3 separate regions of the Homo sapiens genome follow, and all the other regions are linked to region 2. The links are contacts of gene promoters, found by promoter capture Hi-C in blood cells and fetal thymus (Javierre and others, 2016). All regions are on one chromosome and are shown on one strand. The core of a region is centred on a gene start or on the middle of the fragment in contact, and the rest is flanking DNA. Distances in the headings are between cores, read along the strand shown.

What was found. The method cuts DNA at HindIII sites, captures the fragments that hold promoters and counts their contacts. A CHiCAGO score of 5 or more calls a contact.
Region 1: a contact is called between a fragment that was not itself captured here and the fragment with the promoter of HTR2A in region 2, in 2 of 17 cell types (M0 macrophages and M2 macrophages). The highest score is 8.2, in M0 macrophages.
Region 3: a fragment that was not itself captured here is called in contact with the fragment with the promoter of HTR2A in region 2 in 3 of 17 cell types (M0 macrophages, M1 macrophages and M2 macrophages); the score reaches 9.4 in M0 macrophages.

Annotation. Positions count from the first base shown.
Region 1 is chr13:47,425,130-47,429,253 of GRCh38, reverse strand. No RefSeq gene overlaps it. Among named protein-coding and RNA genes, the nearest start is that of LINC00562, 510 kb to the left of the region's middle. The HindIII fragment of the contact is 397 bases long and covers 1,701-2,097 here.
Region 2 is chr13:46,895,186-46,898,889 of GRCh38, reverse strand. HTR2A (5-hydroxytryptamine receptor 2A) reads left to right here and starts at 1,837. Exons shown (of 4, transcript NM_000621.5): 1 at 1,837-2,216; 2 at 2,656-3,395. The coding sequence starts at 2,984. The HindIII fragment of the contact is 5,377 bases long and covers 1-3,704 here.
Region 3 is chr13:47,445,793-47,449,834 of GRCh38, reverse strand. No RefSeq gene overlaps it. Among named protein-coding and RNA genes, the nearest start is that of LINC00562, 480 kb to the left of the region's middle. The HindIII fragment of the contact is 322 bases long and covers 2,197-2,518 here.

The DNA.
Region 1 (4,124 bases), core at 650-3,149, 530 kb before region 2:
TATGGGGTTTCTCAACTCTGGCTGTTGGAATTGTGAATTATTCTTAGCCCTGTGAGAATTCTGAGGATTGTTCTCTCCCTGCTTTTATCTAGAAATTCTTCTCTTAGCCTTAAGTACTTTCCTCACAAAGATTCACTGAAAAGTCTGCTGAAGATCTGAGGGAAACCCTCTAAAGAAGTCCAAGGCTCTCTTTCTGCAATGCTCTCCCCTTTCCTATAATCTTTCCTGCAAATTCTAAACACCTTGTCATCCCTCAGTTCTAAACTCTATCTCCCTATCACAGGGAGATTGAGATGCTCTGTTTGATACCCTCCTTCCTGCTCTTCAGCCTGGACATGTTCTGGAAACCATCGGTCTCACATCTCACTTGTTCTCTTCTCTCAAGAATCTGCACTGCCTTTCATCTAAAGTCTGAAAACTTGTTATATATATTTTGTGTGATTTTCAGTTGTTGAATGGGGGAGGAATGGCTATGACTGTTACTCCAGAAGCAGAAGTTGACAGGCTGGAACTTTAGAAGCTATCATTATAACAATGAAGAGAACTTTATTATTTTGTGCCCACGTGAACCCTAGAAATTTTCATTTTCTCGAAGCACTTAATTTAATTTCTTTACAGGCAAGTAGGCCAGGTTTTACTTTTATGAGCAAAGGTCCACTGTCTGGGCTCTTCATGCTTAGAAATTGTTATGCTTTTAAAAATAACAATTTTAAAAACATGGGAGCGGACCTGGTCATATGCTTCACTTCTGCATCACCAAGCTGCACGCCCTTCCCTCACAAATAAAAAAATTGTCTCCCATTCTTGCCTCTTTTTTGATACCCCAATTACATATATGTGGGGTTATGGCTACATAATGGATGTGGCTGTTTTATTGGCTAAGTGGTCTGCAGTTCATATTTATTGACCTTCAATTACACCTTTAATTTTCACTTTTTCTTCCTGCCACTTGCTCTGCTTGCTGACTCTTAGCTCAGAGGTGTTCAGATCTCTGCCCAACTAACTGACCAGCCTCTCTGTAGTTTCTTCCAAGTGTACTCAAGGCTTCAGTGTCTCTGCCTGCTTCATTCATTAACCTGCTTATGTGCTTCCCACTTCCAAAGGTTTGTTAAGATGTTTCATTCATTCACTTATTCATCCTCTTTCTTTCAGTGCTTGTTTCTTTTCCCACCTCCCCCTTTTTATTATTTGTGAGGGAAGGGCGTGCAGCTTGGTAATGCAGAAGGTAAAACGTATGCTCAGTCCACCACCATCTTTGGGCTTTTAAAAATAAACTTCCTTCAACTTATGTCACATGCTGACTTTTTTGGACTTCAGGGAAGTTTACATTTATTACAGTTTACAACTTTTATATTTACATTTGTTTACAGATTGGAACTTGTGCCTGTTTCTATCTAAAAGGATTGTTTCCTGTGCCATATTTCTCACTTAAGCTATAGAGAGCATGTGCTGCTCTTTGATTAGCCACTCAGATATCCTGGAAAAACAACTTTTCTAGATTCCAATCCTAACACGCTCAACTCTCCAATAACCAGCTGTTTTTATTCTCATACTCAGGGAATATAACATCTGCATGAATAAAATCACGGGTCTTTTCCTCCTCTTGAGGGCAACTTCCACATTTCTCAAGCATCAGTCCTCTCCAGAAACTCAAAGTAAAATCACTTAGGGTTCTCCTAAGGCTCCAGCCTATCTAAGCTTCTAATCCAACCCTGGAAGTGGTAGAAATTATTTTAACCTGTTGGCTTTTACAATGAAGATTTAAATTGTTTAGCTATGTCACACACTGATTCTATGTGAACTGGTATAAAAGGGCAAGAAATAGCCCTCCGAGAGCCTGGATACCATACCTAATGATGACTGCCCACATTCCATAAAGTGATCCCCAAAGATGTAGCCAATAACAGAGGTTAGGAAGAAAGTCTTGATTAAATACAAATATCAGCAAATGGCTGTGTTATGAGAAGTACATAAGTGAAGAATATGTGTGTCTGTAAAGATTAAACCGTAAAAAGGACATTGTATATGTTCCACTGAATTGTTTTTTATGGACAATCCCAAGGCTAATTTATATTACTCTTTCTTTCTTAGTAAGCTTTGACAGTCTCTACTCGGATATTTGATTATCCTATTAGTTTTCCTTTTTCTAAAAAAAAAAAAAAAGTAAAAGAATATGGGTTTAACCTATGTGGAAGAAGACAGCCATTTTTAAAGTGCATGTATCTCATTGTACTGTCTGCTCTTCTGAACAGTGAGAGATGACAGATCCAGGTTTATAGTCCTGTGTCCAAGCTACATATTCATGTGAAGGAAAAGACCAGGACCCAAACCCTCAGGGTCATATCCCTTTTCTCAGCCATGGGATATTGGGGGAGGGGTGCCAACAGAAAAATAGTGGCATCTCTAAGGTATTCCTCTCCTATTCCTTTCTCAGTCTTCACATCTCTAATACCTCAGGGGAATGTAAAATTCTGTGACCATATACAGGCACCCAAAGGAAAATAGAATTAAGGTGTACTTTTTCTGAGCTATCTTGTCCTCCTGCCAGGATTCAGTCAAGTCAATAAGTCTATTTTTTCCCCCAAGGCTAATATTGCCTCATGGAAGTTCATGTTGTCCAGGAATCCAAAAAGCCACTTTTGTAAGACTTTGGAAGTAGGACAACTTCCAGTGACTTTCTCGGATTAAGCATAATAAAATTAAAAGGGCTCGATGTAGCAGATTGTATTTTCTAAAGAAGTCCCCAATAATATTAATCTTCTGCATGCTTTTCTTCAGTGTGGCCTCCTCTGTCCTCTTATTCATTCTTTTGAATCTGGGTGGGCTTGTAGCCACATGAGCCAATAGAGTATAGCAGAAGTGATGCTATGACTAAGGCATAAATGGTGATGCAGCTTTTGCCTTCTTGGCTGGAGCACTCGCTCTTGGAGCCCTAAGCTGTTGCATAAGTAGTCTGACTACATTGTCACAAGCTTGTTGGAAGGAAGCCCAGAACAAATGAAGAGCCCACATACCACTGGTATGGTAGACAACACCAGCTGAGGTCCCAGGTAACTGCCAGTGTCAAATGACAATATGTTAGCATAGTCTTTTCCAAAAATAATGTACACATAACTGAATATCCACATGCAAAAAAGACCCATAATTTATACCTCATGCAAACAATCTTGGATATAGATGCATGTACAAAAACTAACTCCTCAGAATGGATCTAAATATAAAGCCTAAAATTTCTAGATGACTACATAGTAAATGTTTGTGATCTTGGGTTCACAAGTAATTTCTCAGATAAGACACAAAAATACAATCAATTTATAGACTGTAAAGTGACACTGAATTTCAGCGAAAAGAGTAACTTATATAGATGTTGGACTCAAAGCTGTTGCACTGGAAACGACAGTGTCTTATTCTTCAGTGGTTGGCGGGGAAGGGGCCAACTGAAACACAGAGAAGACAAAGCAGCTGATATTAGCTCAACAAAACTACAAGGAGGATTGGATCACAAAAAACTAGAAATTGTGAATTGTTTATAGTCAACCCAAAGGAAGGTTTGACTATAAAGAGGCATGAAAGAAGTTTTTGGTACGATGGAAATGTTCCGTATTTTAATTATGGTGGTGATTGCATTGTCAAAACTCATAGAATTGTACATTAAAAGGTGAGTTTTATTGTTTATGAATTAAACTTCAATAAATGTGTTTTGAAAAATAATAGGAGTCATATATTCAAGTGGGACTTAAACCTTTGATCCTTGATCTATAGTTTGGTGTTCTTTTCACTTGCTTTACTTATCTCCCAGGAATTATTTCTTTGTTTTATTCCTTTACATTTAAAAATCATCTTTACTAGATTTTTAAAAATTTAAAAATTGAATAAATGTTTTCATTCCATTGTGTCTCATAGGCTATGTCTGGGTGTCAAACCCACCTCTTTCTTTCTCCACAGTGTTCGATGAACTTGTATAATTATATTTTTATAAGGGCTTTTTTGAGAAAAGTTTACATCTGTAGGAAATGGCCCAGAGTAAGCTCAATGCTAAGAAATGTTGATATTCTGGGAAGTTAGCAGGTGGAAAATAATAATTGCATCACTCAGTTTTGGGAATACTAGAAATTTGCTCCTTT
Region 2 (3,704 bases), core at 588-3,087:
GGCTTTCACGTCAATCCTGAGGTCTTTTTATTATTAATGTTCCCTACTTGCGGATGAGGAGACTAAAACACAGAGATTAGGTAGCTTAATCACGCTTACAGATGTGGTGAGTGGTAGGCCTGGGATCCAGAGCTGCTCTGGAACTAAGCACGAATTTGCCAGATGGACACACACAAAAAAGGAATGGTAAGAGCACTCCGGGCACAGGGAAGTACAAGTACAGAGACATAAAAATGGTCAGAAACATGTAAGTTCAGTCTGCATACAGGCTGACTGGGAGAGTAACCAGAGTCCAGGCCTGCAAAGTGGGGCAAGCAGGGTACAGGTAGATGAAGAAAAGTGTTATGTGCCCCACAAGGAAGGGACTGCAGGAGTGTAGGCATGGGAGTGATGCCAATTGTGTCATTAATATCAGTAAGAATATCAATAGGAATGAAAGTGGCTGACATTACTTGAGAACCTCCTATAAGCCAGACATGGGCCAAATACTTACACACATTATCTCAGTTTAGCTTCACTACAATCTTATGAGGAAGGTATTATCCCATTTTACAAGTGAGAAGACTGAGCTTTAAAGGGAGCAACTAGATGAGGCGAGGTTCTACTGTTTATGAGTGATAGAGCTAGGATCCAAAACCAAGGAACTCTAAGGTCTGTGTTCTCCGCTGCCTGCTCGCCAGCGTGCATATTTAACGTGGAGGGGTAGGAGGGTGGCAGGCATGGCAGTGAGGGGGGCACTAAGGCACCCACCCAGGAAATAGGTGGCTAGATCTCGACCACAGGGTGCCAGCTGCAGGCTGCAGGAGAGGACATGTGAGAAACACGCATACAGAGGTAGCACCGGAGACGAAGTGGGATCTGGCAGCGAGAATGAAGGAAGAGTCGCGGATAACAGCAGCTGTCTGAAGAGGTGGTGATTCCATCATGCAAGCCAATGGGTAGGAACAAGCACTGAGAGCCGGGCAGGGGGATGCGGAGTGAGGGAAGATGCTGAGGTCAAGGTCTCCCAGGCTACCATGGAAGGAGCCAATGGGCAGCTAGAGATTTAGGTCTGGAACTGAGAGAAATAATCAGCTATGAAGGTACAGACTTGGCCACAAACATATTGAAGGCATGAGAGTGGTTGAATTTGTCCAGGGAGAATGTGAAGAACAGAAGGTGATAGAACTGTAGCAAAACCCAACTATTGAGGAAAATATTTTCATGCCTGCAAAAAGAGAGAGATCGAACTGCCTCCTTTAGAAACCTACTTGGGAAAGGGCTTTCTTTACAAGTAAGGCAAGTTGTCATTACTGGTGGGGGAAAAAAATTGGTACTGCGAAACCAACTTATTTCCTACCACATGTGAGGTTTTGAATAATATCTGGGTGGCATATTTCTGCTGAAGAAAATAAGCCAGTTCAATGGTGTATCTATTAAATAAAAATAGTGCTAATAGTTTATCAGAGTTATCACCACAGACGTGCCTAGCCACCCTGAGCCTATGTGGCCAATGTCAGTAATTCCACTCTGGACACAAACACTGTTGGCTTTGGATGGAAGTGCCGGACACTCACAGCACTCCGAGGACATACTGTTTTCTAGCCTTATTTATGTTCTCTCTTCACCCTTCAGCCTAAAAAATTACCACAGTGCCACTTACCTACCTTAATGGGAATCTGCACAAAAGGCCATTTCTCCAGTTTCTCTCAAAAGCAAAGGAAAACTTCCCAATATTAATATGTAGCAAAAAGAGGGAGAAGAAAAAGCCTGTTTGGTCCGCCCTCCTGGCTGTTGCTACCTTGCAGCTTATGACATACACATAGAGGGAGGTCTGATGAAATGAACGAGACAGTCAGAGAGCTACTCCATTCCCGTGGAAACCAGGAGTCCCTTGGTGCAGACAGCTCTTCCTACTTTCCCATGCAGTTCTTTTGTGCGACTTTGAGGGGCTCGTGAATGATTTCTAAATGTGTGCCTGCTGAGGCGAGCCGCACAGGGAGGGAGGAACCCAGCCGAGCCGTGCCAGAGGAAGCCAACAGGATCCTAGCAGTGCGGGAGCTGGCTCAGCTCTTGCATGCAGTTTTTGAAGTCAGCAAAACAGAAACCAAATTACTATCATATTATGCTGGTGGAAGATCAAGAAGAGGGGACTCTACACCAGTTTAATTACTGTGAGAGATGCAGCGAGTCACAGAATAACAAATGTATCTCATGTGTGGACCCTGAAGACAAATGTAAGTTCTCATGCCGCTATATTTTATTGCTGTGTAATTTTCTTTCCGGTTTGAAATCATGCTTGGCCAACATGTAATCATTTCAATGAGAATTTCCAGGGAGGAAAGTTGTCTGCTAATCTTTACTTAAGACTTTTTTGTTTTCCTTTTATTAGCTAAGCAACATTATAGGAGCTGAAATTCCTGACAGCAGCTGTGGCAATTCAGCTTAAGAATGGCTGAGAACTGTAACCCAAAGTACATCCAATTACTATGGGATTAACACTGGATGTATTTTTAATTGACTTTCTTAATGTAGAATGTGTACATCCCCACTGTTTCTGATTGCATGCTATTTTAATAATACTGTTGCTAAACTAGTACCATCGGCATAACCAACAAAATGAGATATAGTTAAACAAGAGTCCCAGTAGTTATAAAACTTTTCTTCTTTGTCCAGGACATTTATCTTCCCGAGCGCTCAAAAAAAACCCTGCAACCTCTATGCTAAAAGTTCATTCTGCTTTTTTGTCCTCGGTTTGGTGAGAAAATAATAAAACCAAACAGTGGACTCTCCTAAAATTGTGAATGAAGAAAACTTACAGCCACCACAGTTCAGTTCTTTAACTATCATTGTAATAATGGAAGACAAAAATCCAGCCCCGGGAGAACAGCATGTACACCAGCCTCAGTGTTACAGAGTGTGGGTACATCAAGGTGAATGGTGAGCAGAAACTATAACCTGTTAGTCCTTCTACACCTCATCTGCTACAAGTTCTGGCTTAGACATGGATATTCTTTGTGAAGAAAATACTTCTTTGAGCTCAACTACGAACTCCCTAATGCAATTAAATGATGACACCAGGCTCTACAGTAATGACTTTAACTCCGGAGAAGCTAACACTTCTGATGCATTTAACTGGACAGTCGACTCTGAAAATCGAACCAACCTTTCCTGTGAAGGGTGCCTCTCACCGTCGTGTCTCTCCTTACTTCATCTCCAGGAAAAAAACTGGTCTGCTTTACTGACAGCCGTAGTGATTATTCTAACTATTGCTGGAAACATACTCGTCATCATGGCAGTGTCCCTAGAGAAAAAGCTGCAGAATGCCACCAACTATTTCCTGATGTCACTTGCCATAGCTGATATGCTGCTGGGTTTCCTTGTCATGCCCGTGTCCATGTTAACCATCCTGTATGGTGAGTGGCATTAGTTTCCCAGCTATATTCGCACTGGTAATAAAGAGCATGTGCATGCCACCAGCAGATGAGATGGGGCTCAGGGGGCAAACAAACTATAAATAGAAGTCTTTGTTTATAGACTAGAGCCTACTATGTTACTTATATTTTACTCTTAAAATGGGATTTCACATAAAAATCAGACAGTCTATGACCTGTGATCACTGGAGAGTTTTGTGCTTCAAAACGCGTACATCCTGTGTAAAAATGATCATTGGAGAGTTTTGTGCTTCAAAACATGTACATTTAATGTAGAAATTTTTATAAATT
Region 3 (4,042 bases), core at 1,108-3,607, 550 kb before region 2:
TTCATACAGAGAAGCAAAGTTCCTGTAAGACCAAAACTAAATTTAGGAAATACTTTTTATTTTCATGATGTTTCCCACTTTTCACTTTAACTTCCATTGTGTAGACAGATATTTTCACTATGTTTTCTGTTTTATGTGTTCTGGCAACCTCCAAGAATCACAACTGCAATTTCAGAACACATATTGACTTGCAACTCCTTTAGTAAATGACATTTCTTTTCATGAAGCAGTAAACCTGTCAGAAATTCATCTAGTGCAGGGAACTTGACAATTAGTTCTCCTTATGAAAATCCCTATCCTGGACAAATATCCTAAGCAAACTGGGTTATCTCAGTCATCTGAAGAAAATGCTTTGCTCTCCAGAATGGAGTTAATGCCCAGTTTGTGTATGGCTTCATTTGTTCCTGACTGGTAGGTTTTAGTTCACATTCCAGTTGCTAGGCCAATAATCACAGCCTTTCATTAGGGATAAGGAATTTTGGTCTGAATCAAGAGTATGGGTACAAACTAACCATGTTAGAGAGTGGTGTTTTCCTTGTGATGACTAAAGAGATTAAAAAATTAGCATTGTTGAGACATTTTCTCCATATAGATTATTTGGCCTTTGGTCCATGTGTTAATCAGAATTCTCTGAAGAAACAGAACCAATAGAACGTGTATCTGTCTATCCATCCATCCATCCATCTATCGAGAGATATTGGCTATAAGGAATTGGCTGACATGATTATGGGGCTGAGAAGTCTCCAGATCTGCAGCTGGCAAGCTGGAGACCCAGGAGAGCTAGTGGTATAGTTCCAGTCCAAGTCTGAAGGCCTGAGAACCAGGAGAACTGAGGAGGTAAGCTCCAGTCTGAGTCTGAGTTCAAAGGCAGAAGACTGATGTCCCAGCCCCAAAACAGTCAGAGAGAGCGGATTCTTCCTTACTGAGCTTTTTGTTCTATTCAGGTCTTCAGTGGATTGGATGAGGCCCACCCACATTGGGGAAGGCAATCTGTTTCACTCAGTATACAGATTCAAACTTTAATCTCTTTTAAAAATACCCTCACAGACAAATCCAGGATAATATTTAACCAAATATCTGGGCAGCCCATGGCCCAGTCAAGTTGCCACATAAAATTAACCATCACAGTCACTTTTCATTTTTTTCCTCCTATGGGGTTGGTACTGTAAGATAGTTCACAGATTGGTTACCATTTGGGAAGAAAAAATAACATCTTTTGCCCTTGATCCCCTTCAAATTTCCTTAGCATGCCTAGCTGGAACAGATAGGATTGAAGGGGCACAACTAGAGCCAGAGTTCCCACGCCTGCCTCTTTCTAGGGAGAAATAGTCTCTGTGGTTTAAATATACTGTACGTCTTCTCCATAGGAGACTAAAGAGGGACTTGAGGCCAAATCCCATAATAGGCAATGTCATTTTTCTGGCCTCATTTTCTGTGAATATCACCTCAGTACAAAAGAAGAGAACTAGGTAGAATTTGTATGCCCTGATCTTATCTATATATTAGACACAAGTGACATAAGTTTGTAGCAAATTTTTACCAATAACTGACCCAGGGTCTGGTAACACTCCTTCATTTCATTTACTCAACAAATATCTTAGTGCCTATTAAATACAGGTATCAGAAGTAGAGCATAGAAGTCAGGTCTTTGTCTTTATATAAAAGACAAACATATTCTGAGTTTGTTGTTGAATAGTTAGTGTGTTTCTGGTGTCTGTGAGTCTGAAATCAATAGTTTTATTGAAAATAGTATGCAGAACCAAGATGTCATTCTAGTTGAGCAACTTTATTTTACTTGTCAAATTTCCCAGAATATAGAATAAGATTGCCAAAATCAGTTAAAGAAAACAAGTTGCTGAGTGAGAGAGAAAAAGCTCTTTCACATCTTGAGTGAGTATCAAGGGCTGGCGAATGAAGTGACTGCCAGGGCAGGTGGGGTGAGACCCATGAGTGACATTCTGCAGTATTTTCCTGCTGACTTCCCATGCCTAAGAGCATCACAGGGAATGTAAGCAAAGTACTTCAGTGAGTTTAGGAGATAATTATAATGCCTATTTAACCCCCAGTTCCAACCCAAGTTCATAACCAATTGAGAGATGAATGCAGGAATCCTGTATCTGGCCATGGAAATATTAGCTTTATTACCAGGAAAGCTACACTGAAGAATATTTGAAATATAATGGCATGAATTAAGCTTTCTGATACAGTGCTATCTCCTCAGACTCAGGCAGGATTATCTAAATGGTAGTTCTTCCCTATCAGGGCAGATTGTGTGGGGCAGAAGTTCCTACTCTAGGTGCTATTATGGACCATTGTTAGGAGAGAAGAGTTTTCCTCTCTACTATTTCTTGTTTCAGAATCAATGAATGCCGATTTGTGGCATATTCTTCAGTGTCACCTTTTTCAGGTTCTTCCATGGCTGATAAACTTCCTTCCCTTAAGAGGCATTTTACAAGACATTAAAACACACTCCCCATCACCCTCTCTTGGGAGAAGTTAGTCCAGATATAAGAAAGCTTACGATCTAGCCCCAGTGTCCTACTCAGTTTCAGTATGGGCTTTAGCCTGTATGCACAATTTCTCCATGAGGGATTAATTCATGAGCATCTCACAATTCAACAAGCCATTTATTCCATTATCCCTAAAGGATAACTGAAAGTTTAAATAGTAGAATCATAGTTACTTTCTTATTGCTAAGAACTATCTCCTTTCATTACCTAGGAACCACCCCAAATAAAATCGAGAAGGTATATCTGTCCTCAGGGACAACCTGTGTACCCCTTATCTTTAGCAACTCCTCCTTCAGGGAACCACAGCTCAAAGTGGCCCAGAACCTTTCTCCCAGGCACCTGCTGTGTTGAGAAACACTGTGTGTTTTATTATTTCACTCTGGTTTACTTCCTACTAAAGAGGATACAATTAGGCTTGAACAATAAAACAAATTCTATCACAGTGTAAGCAAGTTTTACGTCTCATGCAATGGTCATGTTTTCTCTAATTAAAGAATACTTGCTCCTAGAAGGCTGTAAGGCAATATTTCCCAATGTGTAGTCCTCTTTCCTTGAATGTTAATCCATTCTATGTGGTGAGGGGAAGGCTTTCATGGTCAAAAGACCCTCTTGGCTATTTTGAACAGATTTCTTTGGCTTAGGACTTCACAGAGCCCTTATTTTGTTATAGTACTCTGTGAATCTCTGTGGAAGGACATAATATGTGACTCTTTATTTGTGCAACATTCCATGAGACCACTTTTTCATGAAAACACAATTTGGGAAACATTAAAGATGTCCAGCTAACAGTGGTGATTGCAGACATAATGACAGATGGTTGAGGGGACAAATATTTATTTTTGGCCAATTAAAAAGTGGGCTCCCTTTCTTTCATAATGAATAACTAAGAGACCCAAGGCAATCCAGTGTAGTTAGGAAAAGGCAGTGGAATCCAAAGAACAAGGGCTTTGTTGAGAATATGATCTTGATTTAAACCATGTACCAGCTGAATAAAATTAGTAAATTTATTAGCCCTTAGAGCCTTGTTTGTCTACAAAAGTGGTTGTAATAATTCTTATTTGGTGAGGATATTCAAATGATTTTCTGAGATAATTCTGCAAGGACCTAGAAAAGTCTTTGGAAAAGAATGTTTGTAAAATTAATTTTCATGTCTTTTCCTTCTCCACGATTTTTTCTCTATCTTCTCAGGGATTAAATTTGAAATATAGGGTAAATATAGTTTTTCACTTCTCTAGAAAACCTCCTCTATTTTACACGATAACTTGAAATAAGCATTCACTGAGCATTTACTATGTATATATGTATGTATGTATGTATATATACCAGTTATTATGATCTAGCTTAATGGGAATAATTAAGATAAAAGAGACACAAACTTTGCCCTAATGTGATATTTTGTCTAGTATTCAGTCAGGTAAACAAATGCAGTTGTGTCATATGATTATAAACAATGGTTTATAATTTTATAGCATTTTTACATGTATTATCTAATTTAATCTTCACAAGAACTTTTGAAATAGATATTATTATTT